Regions from separate parts of the Homo sapiens genome. Here regions 1, 2 and 4 are each linked to region 3. Evidence: promoter capture Hi-C in 16 types of primary human blood cells and fetal thymus (Javierre and others, 2016). All regions are on one chromosome and are shown on one strand. Each heading gives the region's core, a stretch centred on a gene start or on the middle of the fragment in contact. The rest is flanking DNA. Distances are from core to core; before and after follow the strand shown.

What was found. The method cuts DNA at HindIII sites, captures the fragments that hold promoters and counts their contacts. A CHiCAGO score of 5 or more calls a contact.
Region 1: a fragment that was not itself captured here is called in contact with the fragment with the promoter of H2BC13 in region 3 in 3 of 17 cell types (M2 macrophages, M0 macrophages and M1 macrophages); the score reaches 7.0 in M2 macrophages.
Region 2: a contact is called between a fragment that was not itself captured here and the fragment with the promoter of H2BC13 in region 3, in 1 of 17 cell types (M2 macrophages). The highest score is 5.7, in M2 macrophages.
Region 4: a contact is called between a fragment that was not itself captured here and the fragment with the promoter of H2BC13 in region 3, in 1 of 17 cell types (M2 macrophages). The highest score is 5.1, in M2 macrophages.

The regions. Positions count from the first base shown.
Region 1 is chr6:27,504,967-27,507,666 of GRCh38, forward strand. It overlaps TRS-TGA4-1 (tRNA-Ser (anticodon TGA) 4-1), which reads right to left and starts at 943; the gene lies at 862-943. RefSeq lists an enhancer at 676-755 and silencers at 866-1,297, 876-935. The HindIII fragment of the contact is 677 bases long and covers 969-1,645 here.
Region 2 is chr6:27,316,262-27,318,961 of GRCh38, forward strand. No RefSeq gene overlaps it. Among named protein-coding and RNA genes, the nearest start is that of POM121L2, 5.3 kb to the left of the region's middle. The HindIII fragment of the contact is 505 bases long and covers 1,190-1,694 here.
Region 3 is chr6:27,806,505-27,809,204 of GRCh38, forward strand. It overlaps H2BC13 (H2B clustered histone 13), which reads right to left and starts at 1,425. Exons shown (of 1, transcript NM_003519.4): 1 at 975-1,425. The coding sequence starts at 1,402. The coding sequence ends at 1,022. H2AC13 (H2A clustered histone 13) reads left to right here and starts at 1,669. Exons shown (of 1, transcript NM_003509.3): 1 at 1,669-2,163. The coding sequence starts at 1,706. The coding sequence ends at 2,098. It also overlaps the pseudogene H4C10P. RefSeq lists enhancers at 130-730, 731-1,330, 893-992, 1,243-1,472, 1,813-2,012 and 1 more. The HindIII fragment of the contact is 5,899 bases long and covers 1-1,991 here.
Region 4 is chr6:27,522,348-27,525,126 of GRCh38, forward strand. It overlaps the pseudogene HNRNPA1P1. Among named protein-coding and RNA genes, the nearest start is that of TRQ-CTG1-2, 4.2 kb to the left of the region's middle. The HindIII fragment of the contact is 1,241 bases long and covers 769-2,009 here.

The sequences.
Region 1 (2,700 bases), core at 57-2,556, 300 kb before region 3:
CTCGACCTTTTCTTCCCAACTTTATTCTGTATGAGAACCAAAGTACTGAGTGTCTGAAGTTACACTGTTTCCTGAATCTACTGTAAAGCCCAGATAAGTGTTCTTGGTCTTTGAATGTGCTGGAGAAGATAGGAAGAATAGACTGGGGCCAGAGAACTTCACCTTGAATTTTTCTAAGCTGTAAGATGAAGACATTTAACAAAATCAATAGAATAAAAATAATAAGGGCTTGGCAGCCAGAGGCTAGCTTTAACATCCACTTCCTGTGGTTTAATAAACCTTTCCCATTCTTGGGCTCTCGAATTTTTAGGCCGAGAAGATACAGTGTGTGTGGTACTGTCTACAAACCAACGAATTTATATTGAAGCTACAATCACAATCATTGTTATTGCTGCAAAACAGGTAATGCCTTGTTGCTGTTGAATGACAGTCCCTAAACTTGGGCTAACAAAACACTTAATACACTATAGGCAAAATCTTCACACACCAGACAAGCAACTTAGACTTATCTACAGAGAAAACTCGATGGAGTCTGACTTCGATTCTCAGAGCTTGTAGGTGAGGAAAAGAGAATTGCCTTCCTCAAATCAGGATTAACGTTAGGTGGTGTTTACACCACAGCAATAGATTCTCTCTTACTCGAGACACGGTTGTCTCGGATGTTGGAGGAGGAGGAAAGTAATGGACTCAGAGAAAGAGGTAAACTACAACGCAGGGTTAATAATGATGATGACAGCTAGAATGCAGAGTTCAACGCAGTGTTACCAAAGGAGATGACACAATTGTAATCCAGGAGACTCAGTTGCCTTTGGGGTGCAATTAGAAGGAAACTATTTGGGAGAAGTCAGGCTAAAACCAAACCGTAGCCGACAGGATTCGAACCTGCGCGGGGAAACCCCAATGGATTTCAAGTCCATCGCCTTAACCACTCGGCCACGACTACGCACCTGTGTAGTGCTCTTGGTTTAAGCTTTTGAAGATGTGAGCAGTGTGCCATTCTTGGGTAGTATGGTAAGTAGATACTACAGTAAAAGATGTTTTGGTGCCTGGTTACTAAGTCTAGTAACAAAGAATTTTCTAGGTGCATTAAGAGCTTCCAGCTTTTAGATGAAATAAGTCATCCATACTGAATTGGAATTCAGTTGAGAAAAGTGGAGTTCAAAGGAGCATTCTGAGACAAGAGACTTGGATTTTCTCTCCCCCTAGAACTCCACTTGCTAGTCACGGTTGATGCACCTGTTCACAGGTATTTGTGAGAAACCAGCAGAAAGGGAGTTTGGAGCTGAGGGTCTGATCCTAGTAGCTTCACAGCCTCAAATGACAATAGCACAGGAAACCTGCTAGAGGAAATTTGAAGGAATTATGACCTTGGAGTCATTTGCTTTTGCTTTCAGTATTGAATACTAAACCAGAAATATCTTCAACAGCTTTGAACTGCTTTGTCCTTTCTCTGGCTTAAAGAATTCGTTGAAACCCAATTTGAGCAGGGGTGCAGGATGAGAAGGGGCAGGGAAGACCTAGCCCTCGTGGACCCTCTGAAGAAAAAGTTGATGGGAAGGTCTCCATCCTCTCAGGAAAACTCACTCCTTTTCACCTTCCCCAGGGAGGGAAGCAGGCAGTCCCAGGAGCCAGGGGAATATGGAGAAGCTTAGATAACATGTTTTCCAAAATTTTGCAGCTTGAGAACATTGTCTGTCCCTCCTAACGTAAAAGAGCTTGTGAATGCCACATTAAATCTAGCTATATTAATACCTTTTTACCCCCTAGGATTAAAGACTGTTGGTTCAGGAAAACACTGCAGAACCAGGCTTTTATTGTTTATTCTTTAATGGGGAATCTCAGGGATTACAGCTTTGAGTTCTGGGAATTGAAATGCTTGGCCAAAGTACCACCAAGTAGATTCAGACAGACTTTCAGATACAAACGAGAGAATCTCTTTTACACCTGAGACCCTCGAACTCTCTTGCAGATACAGTTTTCCCACATGCATTTTCGTTTAGGGCAGACAAAAAGGCAGTTGCTCCTGAAGTGAATTGCATTGTGTTGCCCAGAAAGATATGTTGAAATCCTAACCTGTGGTACCTGTGAGTGTGACCTATTTGAAAACAGTCTTCGCTGATTTAATCAAGTTAAGAGAAGATCATGCTGGATTCAGGTAGGCTCTAAATCCAGTAATCCAGTGACTGCTGTCCTTATAGGAAGTGAGAAATTTAGAGACACAGACACATAGTCACTAGTTCAAAAGCTATGTTGAGAGGGAGGCAGAGACTGGAGTGATGCAATTACAAACCAAGAATGCCAAGGATTTTCTTCAACCATCAGGAGCAAGGAAAGAGGTCTCAGATTTTCCCTCAGAGCACCTAGAAAACAACCAACCCGGCCAAAATCTTAAGAATAAATCTGTCTTTTTAAGTTACCCAGTTTATAGTAATTTGTTAGGGCAGTCTTAGGAAACTAATCAGCTCCCTTACCCATGTTCTTGGAACAAGATCCTTGCTGTTGCTGCCTTAGCACTTCTCCATTCCACCAGGAAGCTCGTGCAAATGGTGACTCACTTCTTTTTTTCTTTTTCCTTGAGATGGAGTCTTGCTCTGTCGCCAGGCTTGGAGTGCAGTGGCAGGACCTTGGCTCACTGCAACCTCCAACTCCCTGGTTCAAGAGATTCTCCTGCCTCAGCCTCTCGAGTAGCTGGGATTACAG
Region 2 (2,700 bases), core at 192-2,691, 490 kb before region 3:
AGAAAATCAATGAAATGAAAAACTAGCTCTTCAAAAAGATCAATAAAATTAACAAACCTTTAGATAGAGTGACCAAGAAAAAAAGAGAACTGAAATTATTGGAATCCAAAATGAAAGAGTGAACATTACTACTAACCATATAGAAATAAAAAGACTGTAAAGGACAGCTGCGAAAAACTGTATGCCAAAACATTAGATAACTTAGATGGAATAGACAAATCCCTGTAATGATGCTAACTACTGAAACTGACTCAAGAAGAAATAGACAATCTGACTAGACCTGTAATAAGTAAAGAGATAAATTAGTAATAAAAAAACTATATACAAATAAATGTCCAGACTTAGATGGCTTCAGTGTTGAATTCTACCAAACACTTAAAAGAATTAATACCAACTCTTCACAAACTCTTCCAAAAAACAGAAGAGGAGGAAACACTTCTCAACTCATTCTACAAGGCCAGTACCAGTATCCTTATACCAAAACCAGGCAAAGCCATCACAAGAAAAGAAAACTACAGACCAATATTTCTTATGAATACAGACATAAAAATACTCAACAAAACACCAGCAAGATGAATCCAACAACATATAAAAAGAACTAGATATCATTACCAAGTGGGATTTATCCCAGAAGTGCAAGATTGTTTTAAATTCTGAAAATCAGTTAATATGATACACCATGTCAACAGAATAAAAAACAAAAACCACATGACCATCTCAAAAGATCTCTTTCATGTTAAAAAGTCTCAACAAACTAGAAATAGAAGGGAATTTCTTCAACCCTAAAAATGCACCTACAATTGCATGGAACCCTTGAAAAACTAGAACAAAGTTGAAAGACTCACACTTCCTGATTTCAAAATTTACTATAGAGCAACAGTAATTAAAACAATGTTGTACTGCCATAAGCATAAACATATAGATGAATGGAATCTACAGTTGAGAGGCCAGAAATAAACCCATATGTCTATGGCCAACTGACTTTTTCCAAGAGTCTGAGACTATTCAGTAGGAAAAGAATAGTCTTTCCAACAAATGGTGCCGGGACAAATTGACAGACATGTGCAAATGAATAAAGTTTGACACTTACCTCACACCATATACAAAAATTGACTCAATGGATTAAAGAGCTAAATATAAGAGCTAAAACTATAAAACCCAATATTTGGGAAACCACTGCCTTATAGAAAGCTTATACATTTGTACTACAAGGCAAATACATGAATGTTTATAGCAGTATTATTTAGAATATAAAAAATCTGGAAGGTATCTGAATGTGTATTCACAAAAACGAACACCAGAGAATTTAATTGTGATATACCTGCGCAGGGGAATACAATACCACAACGTAAACTGAATGGTCTCCAGGTACATTCAATAACATGGATGAATATCACAAACCAAAAGTTGTGCAAAAGAAGGCAGGCAAAGAATAAAAAGACAGTATATATATAAAGTTCAAAGACTGGAAAATACATTTTGTCTTTTGATTCATACACATGAGGTGTATTAGTATCAAGTAAGGAAAACAGAGATCACACTGATTATTTTAACAGGATTACTAGATGGAATTGGTAAAATGGGTGTTGGAAGACTAAAAAGGCAAAAAGAAACAGTAGTGACAGCATGAAACAGCTACTACCCCAAGAGCTGAGGAAACACACGTGCAAGAGGTGGGGTTATTAGAAGCTAGAAGCTTAGAGAAAGAGACTCAGTGCTGAAGCCAGATCTCTGAGGAGGGGTCACTGGCCAGCTGGTGCTGTGAACTCTGAGAGGATATGATGAGGCTGGTTCTGGGAGTGTGGAAAACAACCCTGAAAACGTGAACTAATTGCTGCTGGAACTTACTGCTACTACAGCGTGAAGTGCTGCTGGGATGATGCTAACAGGAAGAGAACAACAGAATTGAGAGTTTCTTCTCTCTTTTCCAGCCTTCCAGTGTCCTTCTAGAGTCCTCCACTGCCAAAGTCTAAGAGAGGGTACAGGGTGAGGTTTGCAGTCCCAGCCCCAGCTTCACAAAGCAGAATGTAGAAGTGTGAACAACATTAATATAAAGTTCAGAAACATGCAAACTTAACATATTCTCTCATAATGCATAGATATGTGGCAAATCAATTGAGAACAGCAAAAAGAATGATAAATATAAAATAATTATTCTGCAGAGGAAGAAAGGAAGAAGAGATTGGGAAGGGCAGATTTAGGGCTTCAAAGTATTGGCAATATTTTATTTCTTCAGTTTTATTGGGTAAATTTGTGCTTGCAAAAAAGTATTTTTACTTTTATATATTGCATTTTTGTGTGTATGTCATTTGAATGTACATTCAAATTTTCACAGTAAAATATACTTTATAACATTTAACACAAGTTGTTGGAAGCAATTAAAATACAGTAAAAATTTTAAATCTTAGGAAAATCACTTTGTACATACCAACTAATATAGGTACTGAGAATTCAATTAAAAATTGAATTGACTCATTAAACAGAACAGTATTAAGTTTGCTTTTTAAGGAAACTTCAGAAATATAAACCTGCTCCAAATGAAAAAAGTCATAGCAGCATCTTAAGGGAAAAAATATTCTCTGGGAAGATGCAACAAGGCCTAAGCAATAGCAAAATTCATGGTAATTTTATTGACTGAGTGAAATTAAACTGTTTAATTTCTCCCATCACAGTCCTAGAGCCTTGGGGAATGCAGCAGAA
Region 3 (2,700 bases), core at 175-2,674:
GTAAATTGGATGGTAAATAGTATACGAAAAACAGTTGGGTTTGGGTGAAAACAAGAAAAACTTTTAAAAATCTACTCTGGCATCTTTTGCTAGCAGGCATTGACAATTAGGAGAAGGCAAGGTGTTAACTTTTACTGATCTCCCACTTTTTTTTTTGAGACAAGGCCTGGCTTTATCACCCAGGCTGGAGTGCAGTGGTGCGATCTCAGCTCACTGTAAACTCCGCCTACCAGGCTCAAGCCATCCTCCTACATCAGCCCCCTAAGTAGCTGGGACAACAGGGGCGCGCCACCACTCCTGGCTAATTTTTGTGCTTTTTGCAGAGACGGGGTTTTGCTATGTTGCCCAGGCTGGTTGCGAACTCCTGGGCTCAAGGGATCCGCCCGCCTCCACCTCCCAAAGTGCTGGGATTACAGGCATGAGCCACCGCGCCCACCCCTCTAGTTTCCAGTTTAGTCGGAAAGATTAAAAACGCCAGCCTTGTTTTCCTAGTGCTGTTTTTGGTTTTTACCTCGGGTCTTTTGTCGTGCCTTAAAATCATGTCTGGTTGCGCAAGTGAGGGAAAGGATTGGGTAAAGGGGGCGCCACCGCAAGTTGCTGTGCAACATCCAGACATCACCAGACCCACCACCTGGAGCCTGGCCTGGCGGTGTCAAACGCATTCTGGTCTCATCTTTTTAGAAACCCGTGGATGCTCAAGGAATTTCCGGATAACGTGATCCCGGATGCGCTTGACTGACTTACACGGAACGAGCAAAGCGCAAAGCAGTCCCTGCTAAGGACTTAGTTTATGCCCTCAAGCGCAAAGGTCGGACCCTCTATGGTGTTGGTAGCTATATGCACGTACCTCATGTACATTTCACCTTAAATGGCTTTCAAAGAGCTAGATTAATTTAGTGGATAGATCAAAATGATTTATGACCCCTCGCCCCCCAGTGATAGGAAGAGCGAACCAGCTCTTCTTTAGATAATAGTGAGTGGCTCTGAAAAGAGCCTTTGGGTTGGACAAGAGCTTGAGAATTTACTTGGAGCTGGTGTACTTGGTGACGGCCTTGGTGCCCTCCGACACCGCGTGCTTGGCCAGCTCCCCCGGAAGCAGCAGGCGCACGGCGGTCTGGATCTCCCTGGAGGTGATGGTCGAGCGCTTGTTGTAGTGCGCCAGGCGGGAAGCCTCGCTTGCGATGCGCTCGAAGATGTCGTTGACGAAGGAGTTCATGATTCCCATGGCCTTAGAAGAGATGCCGGTGTCGGGGTGGACCTGCTTCAGCACCTTGTACACGTACACGGAGTAGCTCTCCTTGCGGCTGCGCTTGCGCTTCTTGCCATCCTTCTTCTGGGCCTTGGTCACCGCCTTCTTGGAGCCCTTCTTCGGGGCGGGAGCAGACTTGGCCAGCTCGGGCATAATGAAACAATAGTGGCAAAACCAAAACAAGAAGTCGGTCTCCTCTTTTTATATAATAGTTTATGCGGCCGAGGTAGTGGGAAGGTCTCTGCTGATTGGTAATTATCCGTGGATGACGACAGATGCCAGTTTTGCCCAATCAAAATAGGTATCCTGCATAATCGAGTCCTATTGGTCTAAATAAAAATAAAACGTAAGCCAATCGCACAGCTTCCTTTTCGCGCCCAGTAGAGGCTATAAAATGTACGTTTTTCTAGTTTCACTTCAGTCTTTCTTGACCGTATAGATAATAGGCCTTTTGCCATGTCTGGGCGTGGCAAGCAGGGAGGCAAAGCTCGCGCCAAGGCCAAGACCCGCTCTTCTCGGGCCGGGCTTCAGTTTCCCGTAGGCCGAGTGCATCGCCTGCTCCGCAAAGGCAACTATGCGGAGCGGGTCGGTGCTGGAGCGCCGGTGTACCTGGCGGCGGTGCTGGAGTACCTGACCGCCGAGATCCTGGAGCTGGCTGGCAACGCGGCCCGCGACAACAAGAAGACTCGCATCATCCCGCGTCACCTCCAGCTGGCCATCCGCAACGATGAGGAGCTCAACAAGCTTCTGGGCAAAGTCACCATCGCACAGGGTGGCGTCCTGCCCAACATCCAGGCCGTGCTACTGCCCAAGAAGACCGAGAGCCACCACAAGGCGAAGGGCAAGTAGAAGCCTGGATTAGTTTGCAGCAACTCAATCCCAAAGGAACCAAAGGCTCTTTTCAGAGCCACCTACAATTTTGTGGAAGAACTGAGCACTATGTTTAATGTAATTTCTCGTCTTTGCCTACTTCTAAACCACTCCAAAGGTTACGTAGATCAGTCTTCGGTGTCTTGGTTAGGTAGTGACAATCTCGTTAGCTTTATAAAAAGCCTGGATAACATTAAAAGTATTAAACACGCCTTCATCTTAAGCTTAGTGGAAGAAAATTTAGTTTTTCCTAAGCTGGCATTATCCAAGTATGTTGAATTCTGTATGGTTCACCGTCGGGTTTTACTTTTAGTCTGTTGAAGCAAACATGTCTGCTTTGGGGCCAGATGTTTTCTGGGTCTTGGTAAATAACAAACCGGGCATTCGACGTTCAATCCAAATCTAGATCAACGACTTGGATTCTTCATTTCTGAGAAATATCTCTCGAATCTGTATAATTAATTGCATTTGAACATTAATGATTGAGTTGAGAATAATTATTAGACTAATTAGAACAGTTACTTATGGTGCCAGGTAGTTCTCTTTGAAGCATTTTCTGAAAATTCATTGAAATTAAAATT
Region 4 (2,779 bases), core at 139-2,638, 280 kb before region 3:
ACTTCATTGCTTCTAAACATCTCCTCTTTTCTTCAAAGACTTTGTTATACTTGCATAAACAAAGATTTGTCATGATATAATACAAAATTTTGGAACGTTTCCCCCTTGTGAAAGTTTAATGTGACAAAATAGACATTTTGCTTTTAAGTTATTTTGACAAAATGAAAAAAATTGTCAAATAGAACTTTTGTTTAAAGACTCAAGGCTAATATAGAAAATAGTTTTTGAAGGTATTTTTAAATATTCTAGAAATGAAGAATTAAGATATAATTACAACTTTATTATTCTTCATTTTATTCTAATGTAAATATTTATAATATTTGTTGAGAATAAAAGTATGTGATGTTCTTCCTATACAGCAATCTAAAGAACTCTTATATTTATATTAACTTCCTTATATTAATTTCAATTTTATTAATTCTTAATATTACATAAAATATAAAGTTTTTCACAAATTATTAATTATTGAAGCATTTTATCCCTAAAATAGTAAAAATCCATTCATATTTCAATGATTGACAGTATCTTAACAAAGCTCACAAGATTTTCACTCTATGCTTAATAGCTAAAATTCTTATTCTTGTACTAAACAATAACAGTACTAAAAAATAAATAAATAAAATAAGACAACTATACTATTCAGATACTAAAAGTAAACCTGGCCTTTTCCGCCTGTGGACACTGCTGAGGAAGCACTGTTAAACGCCCTTCTTCCCACTGCCATCATATCTAAGTCAGCGTCTCCTAAAGAGCCCGAACAGCTGCTGAAGCTTTTCATTGTCATTGGAGGGTTGAATTTTGTTTTTTTCGGTTTTGTTTTTGTTTTTTTTGAGACGAGTCTCTTTCTGTCGCCAAGCTGGAGGAGTGCAGTGGCGCAATCTGGGATCGCTGCAACCTCCGCCTCCTGAGTTCAAGTGATTCTCCTGCCTCAGCCTCCCAAGTAGCTGGGACTACAGGCGGGCACCACCACGCCTGGCTAAGTGTGTGTGTGTGTGTGTGTGTGTCTGTGTGTGTGTAGTACAGACGTGGTTTCACTATGTTGTCCAGGTTGGCCTCCCAGAGTGCTAGGATTACAGGCATGAGCCACTGCACCTGGCCAGGAGGGTTGAGCTTTGAAACAACTGATGAGAGCCTGAGGAGCCATTTTGAGCAATAGGGAACGCTCACGGACTGTGTAGTAAAGAAAGATCCAAACACCAAGCACTCCAGGGGCTTTGGGTTTGTCACATATGCCGGTATGGAAAAGGTGGATACAGCCATGAATGCAAGGCCGCACAAGGTGGATGGAAGATTTGTGGAACCAAAGACAGCTGTTTCAAGAGAAGATTCTCAAAGACCAGGTGCCCACTTAACTGTGATAAAGATGTTAAAGAAGAACTGAAGAACATAAACTAAGAGATTATATTGAACAGTATGGAAAAATTGAAGTGATTGAGATCATGACTGACCGAGGCAGTGGCAAGAACAGGGGCTTTGCCTTGTAACTTTTGATGACCATGACTCCATGGAAAGGATTGTCATTCAGAAATACCACACTGTGAATGGCCACAACTGTGACTTTAGGAGTGCTCTGTCAAAGCAAAAGATGTTTAGTGCTTCATCCAGCCAAAGAGATCGAAGTGGTTCTGGAAACTTTGGTGGTGGCGTTGGAGGTGGTTTTGGTGAGAATGACAACTTCGGTCGTGGAGGAAACTTCAGTGGTTGTGCTGGCTTTGGTGGCAGAAGTGGTGGTGGTAGATAGGGTGGCAGTGGGAATGGCTATAACAGATTTGATAATGATGGAAGCAATTTTGGAGGTGGTGGAAGCTACAATGATTTTGGCAATTACAACGATCGGTCTTCAAATTTTGGACCCATAAAGGGAGGAAACTTTGGAGGCAGAAGCTCTGGTCCCTATGGTGGTGGAAGCCAATACTTTGCCAAACCATGAAACCAAGGTGGCTATGGCAGTTCCGTAGCAGCAGTAGTTACGGCAGTGGTAGAAGATTTTAATTACTGCCAGGAAACAAAGCTTACCAGGAAAGGAGAGTCAAAGAAGTGACAGGGAAGCTGCAGATTACAACCGATTTGTGAACTCAGCCAAGCCCAGTGGTGGAAGGGCCTAACTGCTACAAAGAAGACATGTATTAGACAAATACTCATGTATATGGGCAAAAAACTTGAGGACTGTATTTATGACTAATTGTATAATAGGTTATTTTAGTTTCTGTTCTGAGGAAAGTATAAATCATTTCAACAAAGGGTTTTAATATAGTGTGTTTTTTTTTTTTTGCACCTAGGCTGTTGGATGCCAAATGTAATAGTCTAATCATGACTCTGAATAAATGTGTCTCTTTGAAAAATGTGCTATGTAAAGTTAGTCTACTCTGAAGCCATCTTGGTAAATTTCCCCAACATTGTGAAGGGAATTCCTTCAGGGTGATGCCACATTCTATTTGGAATTTGTATATGACCTGCTTGGGTGGAGAAGCCATTATCTTCAGTAACCTTGGTGTAGTTGAACTGATAGTTACTGTTGTGACTTGAAGTTCACCATTAAAAGAGTTCACCGGGCCAGGCGCGGCGGCTCACATTTGTAATTCCAGCACTTTAGAAGGCTGAGGCAGGAGAATTGCTTGAACCCAGAAGGCAGAGGTTACAGTGAGGAGAGATCTTGTCATTGCGCTCCAGCCTGGGCGACAGAGTGAGACTCCAACTCAAAAAAAAAAAAAAAATTAGGCTCAAGGATTCCAGAAATAACATGGAAGTAGATATCTGGCTATTTGACTTTCATTCTGGG